Regions from separate parts of the Homo sapiens genome. Here regions 1 and 3 are each linked to region 2. Evidence: promoter capture Hi-C in 16 types of primary human blood cells and fetal thymus (Javierre and others, 2016). All regions are on one chromosome and are shown on one strand. The core of a region is centred on a gene start or on the middle of the fragment in contact, and the rest is flanking DNA. Distances in the headings are between cores, read along the strand shown.

Evidence for each region. The method cuts DNA at HindIII sites, captures the fragments that hold promoters and counts their contacts. A CHiCAGO score of 5 or more calls a contact.
Region 1: a fragment that was not itself captured here is called in contact with the fragment with the promoter of GDI1 in region 2 in 1 of 17 cell types (monocytes); the score reaches 6.1 in monocytes.
Region 3: a contact is called between a fragment that was not itself captured here and the fragment with the promoter of GDI1 in region 2, in 2 of 17 cell types (monocytes and non-activated CD4 T cells). The highest score is 5.9, in monocytes.

What each region holds. Positions count from the first base shown.
Region 1 is chrX:153,917,670-153,921,248 of GRCh38, forward strand. It overlaps ARHGAP4 (Rho GTPase activating protein 4), which reads right to left. Exons shown (of 22, transcript NM_001666.5): 4 at 3,428-3,490; 5 at 2,957-3,139; 6 at 1,486-1,614; 7 at 1,163-1,384. Among named protein-coding and RNA genes, the nearest start is that of ARHGAP4, 6.8 kb to the right of the region's middle. RefSeq lists an enhancer at 3,272-3,579. The HindIII fragment of the contact is 4,186 bases long and covers 1-3,579 here.
Region 2 is chrX:154,435,278-154,438,403 of GRCh38, forward strand. It overlaps GDI1 (GDP dissociation inhibitor 1), which reads left to right and starts at 1,877. Exons shown (of 11, transcript NM_001493.3): 1 at 1,877-2,022. The coding sequence starts at 1,978. ATP6AP1 (ATPase H+ transporting accessory protein 1) reads left to right here. Exons shown (of 10, transcript NM_001183.6): 9 at 1-228; 10 at 405-1,239. The coding sequence ends at 614. RefSeq lists an enhancer at 1,409-1,909. The HindIII fragment of the contact is 14,364 bases long and covers 1-3,126 here.
Region 3 is chrX:153,898,139-153,901,863 of GRCh38, forward strand. No RefSeq gene overlaps it. Among named protein-coding and RNA genes, the nearest start is that of AVPR2, 4.7 kb to the right of the region's middle. The HindIII fragment of the contact is 392 bases long and covers 2,149-2,540 here.

The sequences.
Region 1 (3,579 bases), core at 597-3,096, 520 kb before region 2:
CAGAAGGTTGCATCTGCAGTGAGCTGAGATCACATCACACCCCTGCACTCCAGCCGAGGGGACAGAGTGAGACCCTGTTTCAAAAACAAAACACAACAAAACAAAACAAAGAATACAGACATTTTCAGATGTGCAAAGTCAGGAAACCCTTGGTGAAGGTGTCACCAAAATAAGGGTATCAAACTAAGAAAGCTGCTGCCGTGGAATCCGGAAACAGAGCACTGGGCAGAAGTGAAGCACTCCAGACTGGAAGGCTCTGGGGGAGGGCGCAGAGGAGAAGGTTGACCTCACAGGTGCCTGGTGTGGAGGACAGTGCTGGGACGAGGTAGCGATCAACTCCTAGCAATGGGCATGTTCTAGCAAGCAGCATTCCTGAGGCAAGAGAGTTATAAATTCCAGAAGAAAAGGAAAAATTGTCCAAGGAAGGACATGTGATCCTAATACAGTACATGGCTCAGCTGCCAACAGTACCTGTTGTCATGGTGATTTAAACATTGAATGTTAATTTAGCCAAAAATTCTGGGATAAGCCCACTGGGAGAACAAGATGCAGGGAAGCGTGTGGTGGCTGTGAGAGATGCTGGTGGCACTGGGTCATCATTGGCCAATGGAAAATGGCTGCTTGACACCGGGAGGTGGGTGGCTGTTTCTGGGGGTGGGAGCTGGGAACGGGAGGGGTGGGTTAGGGAGCAGCTGTGACGCCATCGGAAGCCCTGGTGATGCCGGACTCTTCGTAAAGTTCCAAGTCGGCCCGAAAGGGGCCCAATGTAATCCCAGATCATTGACAATGCCCATCAGGATAAACTGCTGCAGGAAAAACTAGCTCGACGGAGAAGGATAAAGAAGCCCCATTCCATCTTACTGCCAAGTTTGTGTCACGAAATTTAAAAACACAGAGAAACCAGCCTAGAACAATGTATGGGCAGCTACACGGCTGCCTGCTGCACGGTTTGAACAGTTAGTGTCTTGCCCTCCTTGGCCATTGCGGGGGTGCACCCTTGGAGTGAGGCTGCAAATGGAAGTGGGACACTTCTCTAGCTGCCGCACTGCCTGAGACCATGGAGAACTTGGATTCCTGAGCAAAGTGTGGGTCATGCCACTCCACTGCCCACCATTACAGTGAAGGCCAGAGAATGCCAAGCCCAGCAGGGGGTGACCCTCACCTCATCCCCATCATGGGGGTGGTAGTCAAAGCGCAGCGGGGGACAGAAGACGGTAGCATGCACCTCGAGAACCTTGGCTTTGTCCCCTGGAGGATCCAGGGCCTCCACAGCTTCTTCCAGGCTGCCCAGGCCCTGCACTTGGGAGGCTTGGGTGCGGCTCTCAGCGGCCGTGTAGCTCCGGAGCACCTGCCCCAGGGCCAGGTGGAACCCTGTGTCACAGCACTGAGGAGGAAACAAGGAGATGCTTGGGTAGGTCCTGGAGCCACAGCTTCCCAGCCCCGAGGCACCAGGCACCTTTTCCCACCTGCCCACCAAGGACTCACGTCCATGAGGTCCAAGACGTCATGCAGGTAGTAGTTACTGACAGCAGCGTTGACACTAGCCAGGCTAAGCAGGTACTCGTTGCGCGCCTTTGTGCACTTGAGTTTGTGCTCCATGAACTTGGCCTGCCGCTACTCAAGACAATGCAAGCGTGCCAGGGTCACGCACGTGGCCAGCCCCTATCTCTAGCCTTTCATGTAATGCCCATCGCCTCCCCTCCCACTGTGGACAACTACACCTGAACTGGTCAAGCCCAGAAGTCCTGCTGCCTTCCCCACGCCACAGTCCACAGTGTGCTCAGCCCAGTGCCAGGAGGTGACTTGATTCCCCGGCTGTTCACCCGCCACTTGCCTTGGTTCGAGCCACAACATTCCCCACAGAAGTGGGGGATGACACAGAACTATTCACAGATACCTGATGAGTGGAAGGTGCGCACATGGCACCCCACCATGGAGGGTGCACGAGAAACCCAGCTTGGAGCCAGCACACAGGTGCACAGCTGGAAGCGGCCACAGGCCTCTGCGGGGGCCAGAGCTGAGGGGGAACGAGTACCCCAAAGGGTAGGGATAGATCATCAAGAGCCATGAAACAGAACCTGCTGGCACCTGGGTTCTAAAACTGGCACTCTATTTTTTTTTTATTTTTTTTTTTTGAGACAGAGTCTCGCTCTGTCGCCCAGGCTGGAGTACAGTGGTGCAATCTTAGATCACTGCAACCTCCGCCTGCTGTGTTCAAGTGATTCTCCCGCCTCAGCCTCCCAAGTAGCTGGGATGACAGGCACCCGCCATCATGCCCGGCTAATTTTTGTATTTTTAGTAGAGATGGGGTTTCACCATGTTGGCCACACTGATCTTGAACTCCTGACTTCGTGATCCACCCACCTCAGCCTCCCAAAATGCTAGGATTACAGGCGTGAGTCACCGCACCTGGCTAAAGCTGGCACGCTAACCACAGCAGCCAGGGAGACCTTCCCCCAACACAGCCAAACTCTGTCATTTCCCCTAAGAACACCTGAGATGCTCGACTCCCTCCTCTGCTCCCAGAGTCCCAGAGACCATGACTGTCAGCCACGCACAGCCTGGCGGCTCCATCCAGGCATTTCCCAGCCTCCCCACTCTCTGTACTGGGCTCACCTCGAAGGCCCTTTCTCCGTGCGTGTCACCCCATCACCCACCCTAAGTGTCTTCTTGCCCCCCTCTGAAACCTTACGGAATGGCTGGCAGAACAGCAGAGCTGCAGGGGCCCCGCTGGGAGCATGGAGAGGCTGCATGGGGCTGTCCAGGGCCAGGCAACTGTTTTCCCCACTCTCTCAGGCCCTGGGAGCCTTCCGTATGGAATCCCTGGAACCTGATGGCACTGTCCTGCCACTCCTGCCCTCCCCTGCACCCAGCCCTGACTTCCCCCTCAGCACAGCAGGTCCTAGTTAGGGCCCATGGCCCATAGGCCTGCGTCTGAGGTGCCCTCCAGGCCCACCTTCTCCACCAGCCTCCCTCCCTTCTTGAGGGAGCTCTTGCGGAGGGGCCCTGCCTCAGTGGCACCAGCGGTGGTGGTGGGGACACTCCGGCCTGCCCGCTTCTCCTCCTGCCGCTCGGCCTCCCGGAGCTTGGCCTCGGCATTCACGCTCTCCATGTGATATGCCTGGTACGTCTTCTTGGCCTGCAGGGAGACCCAAAGCAAGGTGGTGCTGGTGAAGGCCACGGCTGGGCCAGCCCCCAGCCCTCTACCCCTGCCCCTCTGGAACTTGGACCTCAGAGCTGGGCGATCCCATGTGAGCACTTAGCCTAACGCCCTGTGCCTAGGGAGAGAGGCCTTTGCCCCTAGGTGCGTGCTTCTCCCTGAGCCTGGCTTGGGGTGATGTGATGGTCTGGCGGTGTTCCTCCCCCACTGTGAGTGGCATTTCTCCCTGGACCATTGGGGCAGGCCCCTCCCCAGCCCTTTCCTCACCGTCTGGAGCTCTGAGACCACCTCCAGGAGCTCATCCTGCAGCTGCTGCTCCAGATCCCTGCTCTAGAGGCAGAGGCAAGGGTGAGCACGGCACTGCCCAGAGCGGCCCCGCCAGGCACTGGAAGCTCTGCCCAGATCAAGCCCCATCGGGG
Region 2 (3,126 bases), core at 627-3,126:
ATTCTGGCCAACCGCCTCTACCCAGTGTCTGCCCGGCACTGGTTTACCATGGAGCGCCTCGAAGTCCACAGCAATGGCTCCGTCGCCTACTTCAATGCTTCCCAGGTCACAGGGCCCAGCATCTACTCCTTCCACTGCGAGTATGTCAGCAGCCTGAGCAAGAAGGGTAGTCTCCTCGTGGCCCGCACGCAGCCCTCTCCCTGGCAGATGATGCTTCAGGACTTCCAGGTATGGAGCGGGCGTGGCCCAGCTTCAGGTGGGGGAGCCCAGGCTAGTGGTTGAGAGACGAAGAGAGGCTTGGGCTTGGGCATGTAGTTGAGAGTCCTGTCCCTGCGCTGCCCCTGTCCCAGTTCTTGCTGGGCCTCCCAACGGTCCTTTCTGACCCGTGTCTGTGTGTCTGCCAGATCCAGGCTTTCAACGTAATGGGGGAGCAGTTCTCCTACGCCAGCGACTGTGCCAGCTTCTTCTCCCCCGGCATCTGGATGGGGCTGCTCACCTCCCTGTTCATGCTCTTCATCTTCACCTATGGCCTGCACATGATCCTCAGCCTCAAGACCATGGATCGCTTTGATGACCACAAGGGCCCCACTATTTCTTTGACCCAGATTGTGTGACCCTGTGCCAGTGGGGGGGTTGAGGGTGGGACGGTGTCCGTGTTGTTGCTTTCCCACCCTGCAGCGCACTGGACTGAAGAGCTTCCCTCTTCCTACTGCAGCATGAACTGCAAGCTCCCCTCAGCCCATCTTGCTCCCTCTTCAGCCCGCTGAGGAGCTTTCTTGGGCTGCCCCCATCTCTCCCAACAAGGTGTACATATTCTGCGTAGATGCTAGACCAACCAGCTTCCCAGGGTTCGTCGCTGTGAGGCGTAAGGGACATGAATTCTAGGGTCTCCTTTCTCCTTATTTATTCTTGTGGCTACATCATCCCTGGCTGTGGATAGTGCTTTTGTGTAGCAAATGCTCCCTCCTTAAGGTTATAGGGCTCCCTGAGTTTGGGAGTGTGGAAGTACTACTTAACTGTCTGTCCTGCTTGGCTGTCGTTATCGTTTTCTGGTGATGTTGTGCTAACAATAAGAAGTACACGGGTTTATTTCTGTGGCCTGAGAAGGAAGGGACCTCCACGACAGGTGGGCTGGGTGCGATCGCCGGCTGTTTGGCATGTTCCCACCGGGAGTGCCGGGCAGGAGCATGGGGTGCTTGGTTGTTTCCTTCCTAATAAAATAAACGCGGGTCGCCATGCGTTGGGCCTCTTGTCGCTCATTTCTGCGCTGGGCTTTAGGCGCGTGCTCGCCGGAGGGATGCGGGAGGATGGAGCCTGGCGAGGGGGAGGCGAAGAGGCATCCGCGGAGACCGGGAGGGGCTTTAGCAAGCTGGGCCCTAACCGCTCAGGGTAGGGAGGGGCGGTCGGGCCGAGTCCCGGTGCGCTTCGGCGTCTCAGGAGGCCGTCGTGACAATGGCAGCCTTCGCGTCGTGAGGGGGCCGCCCCAGGCTGCCGCAGCGGCGCGCGCCCGGCCGCGGGGCCGCGCCGAGACTCCCGGGGGGGTGGGCGGGGGTGGGGAGGTGGGCGGGCGCGCGCGGGGCGGGGCGGGGCGGGGCGCGGCGGGTGGGGCGGGGCGCGCGCGGCTCCCGCGCACGGATTCTTCCTGGGCCGCAGCACCGGCCGCCGGCCCGCCCCGCCCGCCCCGCCCCGCGCCTCTCTAGACTCTCGGCGAGCAGCGTCGCCCGCGGAGCCGCGCTGGTGCTGTGGCCCGGGCCCTGGCAGCCCTCCCGGGAGGCGAGCCGGGGAGGCGGTGGCCCCTGCCGGTTGCGGCGGGGCGCGGGAAGAGGCGGGACTCTTTGACGCGGCGGAGGGGTCGGGCGACGGCCGACGCGCCGCCATCTTTGGTCCAGTGCGGTGGCGGCGGCGGCGGTGGCGGCGGCGACTGCTGCGGTGAAGGAGGAGGAGGAGCCGAGCGGGCGCTGGCACCGAGGCCTGACCATGGACGAGGAATACGATGTGATCGTGCTGGGGACCGGTCTCACCGTAAGTGCGGCCCCGGCGCCCCTGGCCCTGCGTCGTGCCCTCGCCATCCCCCGCGATGATGCGGCCGCCGGCCCATCCTCTGGTCACTGCCATCTTCTGCGCTCCGCTCCCCGAAAAGCCGGCGCCGTGCCCACCCCGCTGCTCCCCCAGCGACGTCGCCTCTGCTCGTTGCCATGACCCCATCTCCCCGAAGAGGCCCCCTTCCTGGCCGCCTCCTGGGCTACCCGGGTCCGACCCCCGGCGCCCTCCCATCTTCCCTACCCCTGCCCGCTGGACCGGAAAACGCACCCCCACTCGGCCCGATGCCCACGACCCCGCCCACCCATCGCCCCCACCCATCACGGCATCCACCCGTCGCCCGCACCCATTGCCCGCCTAGCGTTGCCTCTCAGCGTCCGTTCCCATCTTGCGCTAATCCCGGTGGGGATGAAGTAGAAGGACCTGGGGTCAGGGGGCCTCGCCAGAGTGGGCCCTCAGCCCGCCTCCTCATCGTCTTCTGGGGCCAGGGGATCCAGGGAATGTTCCAGAAGGAACAGCAGTGGGGGCAGTAAGCACATTCCCGCAACCCCACCTCGGTTGCCCATGGAGACCTCAGGCTGGGTAGCATCTGCAGCCTTTGTCCTTGGGCTAGTGACAGTGACTGGTGAGGGTGTTTATCTTCCCCCTTTCCCCGAAAACCCCGTTGGCCTACTCCCCTCAGAGACTCTTCTTCCTCGGTCCAGGCCCAGATGCCCCTCCTCAGCGGCAGGGGCTCCTGCTATTTGAAGAAAGAGCAGTCCAGGGTGGGGCCTACAATTTCAAGGACTGTGCTAAGCCTTTCTTTTCCTCCCTTTCGAGTGTCCTTTGCAGTCCAGCTGGGTCTTCTCTGTGCCTTATTGTGTTTTATCCGCCTTTTTGTGCGGCTCTGCGTAGGTAGATGCCTCTCGGCGTGTTGGTACTGGAAGGCCATCCTGTGTCTGCTGGATGCCCTGCCTCCCTCAAAGCCTCCGTTATTTCACTCTCCGCCTTGTGAGGGGGACGGGACTCCTTTGCCCAGCAAGGTTGCAATGGAGAGTGTGGTCGGATGAAGCCATCACCCCAATTTTAGGCGAGGCAACTAGCCAG
Region 3 (3,725 bases), core at 1,095-3,594, 540 kb before region 2:
ACCAGTTAAAAGGCAGAGACTGTTGGGCTAGATAAAATAGCTATATGTTATTTACAAGAAGCACATTTGAAGCATAAAGACACAGACATGTTGAGAGTAGAAGTATGGAAAAAGATATACCAAGCAACCACTGAGCATAAGAAAGCTGCCATGGCATCATACTAATATCAGGTAGAGCAGAATTCAAGACAAAGAGTTTACTAGAGATCAAGAGAGACATGTCATAATGAAAAAAGAACACATAATCAAGAAAACACAACCATTTCAAATATATAAGCACCTAATCTACCAAATATATGAAACAAAATTTATAGGACTAAAGGGTTCTAGATACAGATAAATCTCCAAACATACTGGCCAACTTTAACATTCCTTTCTCAGTAAATGATAAAACAAATAGGAAAAAAATCAGAAGAATATAGATTTGAACAACACTATCAACCTAATTGACTCAATTGATATGTACGGAACACTACATCCAACAACAGCAGAACACATATTCTTCTCAAGTGCAGATGGAACCCCAACCAACACAGACAACTTCTGGGCAATCGAGCAAGCCTCAATAAATTACAAAGGGTCAAAATCATACAAAGTACGATTTCTGACCAAAATGATGTTGAATTAGAAATCAACAACAAAAAGACATCTAGGAATTTTCTAAATATTTTGAAATGAAAAAATATCTACTTCCAAATAACCCAAGAACCAAAGAAGAAACCACAAGTAAAATTATTGGTAGAACATATCTTTCACTGAATAGAAATGCAAATAAAATATGAAAATTTGGGAATTCAACAAAACAACTGATTAGAGGAAAAGGAACTACTTATATTAGAAAAGCAGAAAGGTCCCAAAATAATTATTTAAATTTCTACTTTAAGAAACTAGAGCCGGTCACGGTGGCTCACACCTGTAATCCCAGCACTTTGGGAGGCCGAGGCAGGCAGATCATGAGGTCAAGAGATCGAGATGATCCTGACCAACATGGTGAAACCCCATCTCTACTAAAAAATACAAAAATTAGCTGGGCGTGGTGGTGTGCACCTGTAATCCCAGCTACTCAGGAGGCTGAGGCAGAAGAATTGCTTGAATCTGGGAGGCAGAAGTTGCAGTGAGCCAAGATCACACCACTGCACTCCAGCCTGGGCAACAAGAGCAAAACTTCGTTTCAAAACAAAACAAAACAAAAAGATCAATGAAATTGATAAGCCTCTAGCCAGACTGATCAGAAAAAAAAAATGGAGAGAAGATACAAATTACCAATATGGAGAATAAGAGAGAGGGGGCATTATTACAGATCCTACAAACATAAAAAAGTGATAAGAGGATGTTGTGAAAAACTTATTCCAATACATCCAACAACTTAGATGAAATGGACAAATTCCTTGAAAGATACAAATGGTCAACGCTCATTTAGGAAAAAATAGATAACCTGATTAGCCCTGTATCTGTCAGAAGAGTTGAATTTATAACTGAAAAAATTCTCACAAAGAAAACTCCAGGTTTGTGTAAATAATACCAATTCTATACTAACTCTTCCAGAAAACAGAAAAAGAGAGAACACTTCCCAACTCGTTTTATAAAGTCAGCATTATACTCATCCCCAAACCAAAGATATTACAGAAAGGGAAAACGTAGACCAGCATCTCTCATTAATACAGATGTAAAAATGGTAAACAACAGCCAGGCACAGTGGCTCACACCTGTCATCCCAGCACTTTGGGAGGCCAAGGTGGGTGGATCAGAGGTCAAGAGATCGAGACCATCCTGGTTAACATGATGAAACCCTGTCTCTACTAAAAACACAAAAATTGGCCGGGTGTGGTGGCTCATGCCTGTAATCCCAGCACTTTGGGAGGCCGAGGCAGGTGGATCACCTGAGGTCGGGAATTCGAGACCAGCCTGACCAACATGAAGAAACCCCGTCTCTACTAAAAGTACAAAATTAGCTGGGCATGGTGGCGCTTGCCTGTAATCCCAGCTACTTGGGAGGCTGAGGCAAGAGAATCTCTTGAACCTGGGAGGCGAAGGTTGCAGTGAGCCAAGATCTCGCCATTGCACTGCAGCCTGGGCAACAAGAGTGAAACTCCGACTCAAAAAAAAAAAGAAAAAAAAGAAAAAAATTCAATACTCACTTGTGATAAAAGCTTTCAGTATACCGGGTGACAGAGTGAGAGACTATGCCTCCTCCCCACCAAAAAAAATATAAAAAAAAAAAAGAAGTTACACAAAATACTATGTACTCTTTTATTTATTTATTTATTTTTATTATTATTTTTTTTTGAGACGGAGTCTTGCTGTGTCACCCAGGCTGGAGTGCAATGGCAAGATCTCGGCTCACTGAAACCTCCGCCTCCCGGGTTCAAGCGATTCTCCAGCCTCAGCCTCTGAGTAGCTGGGATTACAGGCTTGCGCCACCACGCCCGGCTAATTTTTGAAAATACTACATACTCTATGATTCTATTTATATAAAATTCTAGAAAAGGAAAATCTATAGTGATAGATCAGTGGTTGCTAGGCTTTCAGGTAGGGGAAGAAGCTTGACTGCAAAAGGCCACGAGGGAACTTTCTGGAATGTCGAAAATATTTATTCTATGTCATGATTGTGGTTGTGGTTACACGACTGTATACATTTGTCAAATCTTACTGAACAGTACAATTACAATTAATGAATTTTACTGTATGCTAATCATACCTCAATAAAGCCGAAAAAAAAAAAAGTCATTCTGGAGGAGAGAAATCATTGCCTGCGGAGGGCCATTCCAGGGTGGTGAGTGCATGAGCACTGAAGACACCCGGAGCAGCTGCTGCAATAATCTGGGGGAGGAACGTGCAGGCAGAGAGAGCAAGAGGAAGTCAGACTGGGAAACCCCGAGGCAGTTACCCAAACAGCCCACTAACAGCAACTGCAGTCGGCCGCCTCTGGGGAGGAAAGCGGGAGGGGCCACTGCCTTTAAAAAAGAAAAAAAAAAAAAATCTCTGCAGTTTTGCCAGGGAGCCGCCTCCTGCCTGACTCTCACATGATGACCTGGAGGCCATCTATGGGTACGGCCCTCAAGCCCTCAACGCTCACCCTCCTTCTACCCCCCGCCCCTCACCCCAGCACCTGCTGGAGACCCTGGCCCTCCCTTCCACTCCGCGAGGCTCTTAATCTATCCAGTTCCATGGGCTGCCTTTCCGCAGCTATAAACAGGCTCTGTCCAGCTTTCCCAGTTATTATTCACTTAGGTGAATGGACACAATTAGATGATCATCCGCAGGCTGTCTTCCTGTCATCATTGGCACACGCACACACCCTCACACACGCACACACCCTCACACACGCACACACCCTCACACACGCGCACACCCTCACACACAACCCCCCCAACGCCACACACACACACACCACACACCCTCACACACAACCACCCACGCCACACACACACCACACACCCTCACATGCACACCCTCACACACCACACACCACACACACCCCACACACACGCCCACCCTCACATACGCACACTCTCACACACACCCTCACACACTCTCACACCCTCACACACGCACACCCTCACACACACCCTCACATTCACACAAGTACACTTGAGTTTTTATTAAATTTGTTTTTGTCCCCTTCAATCCCATCCTCCAACCCGTTGTTCCTCCCTATCTCCTGGGCTCTAGGTATTCTCCTTCGGGTCACAGTCCCTGTGAGGGCCGTTCCTGTTGACAGGCAC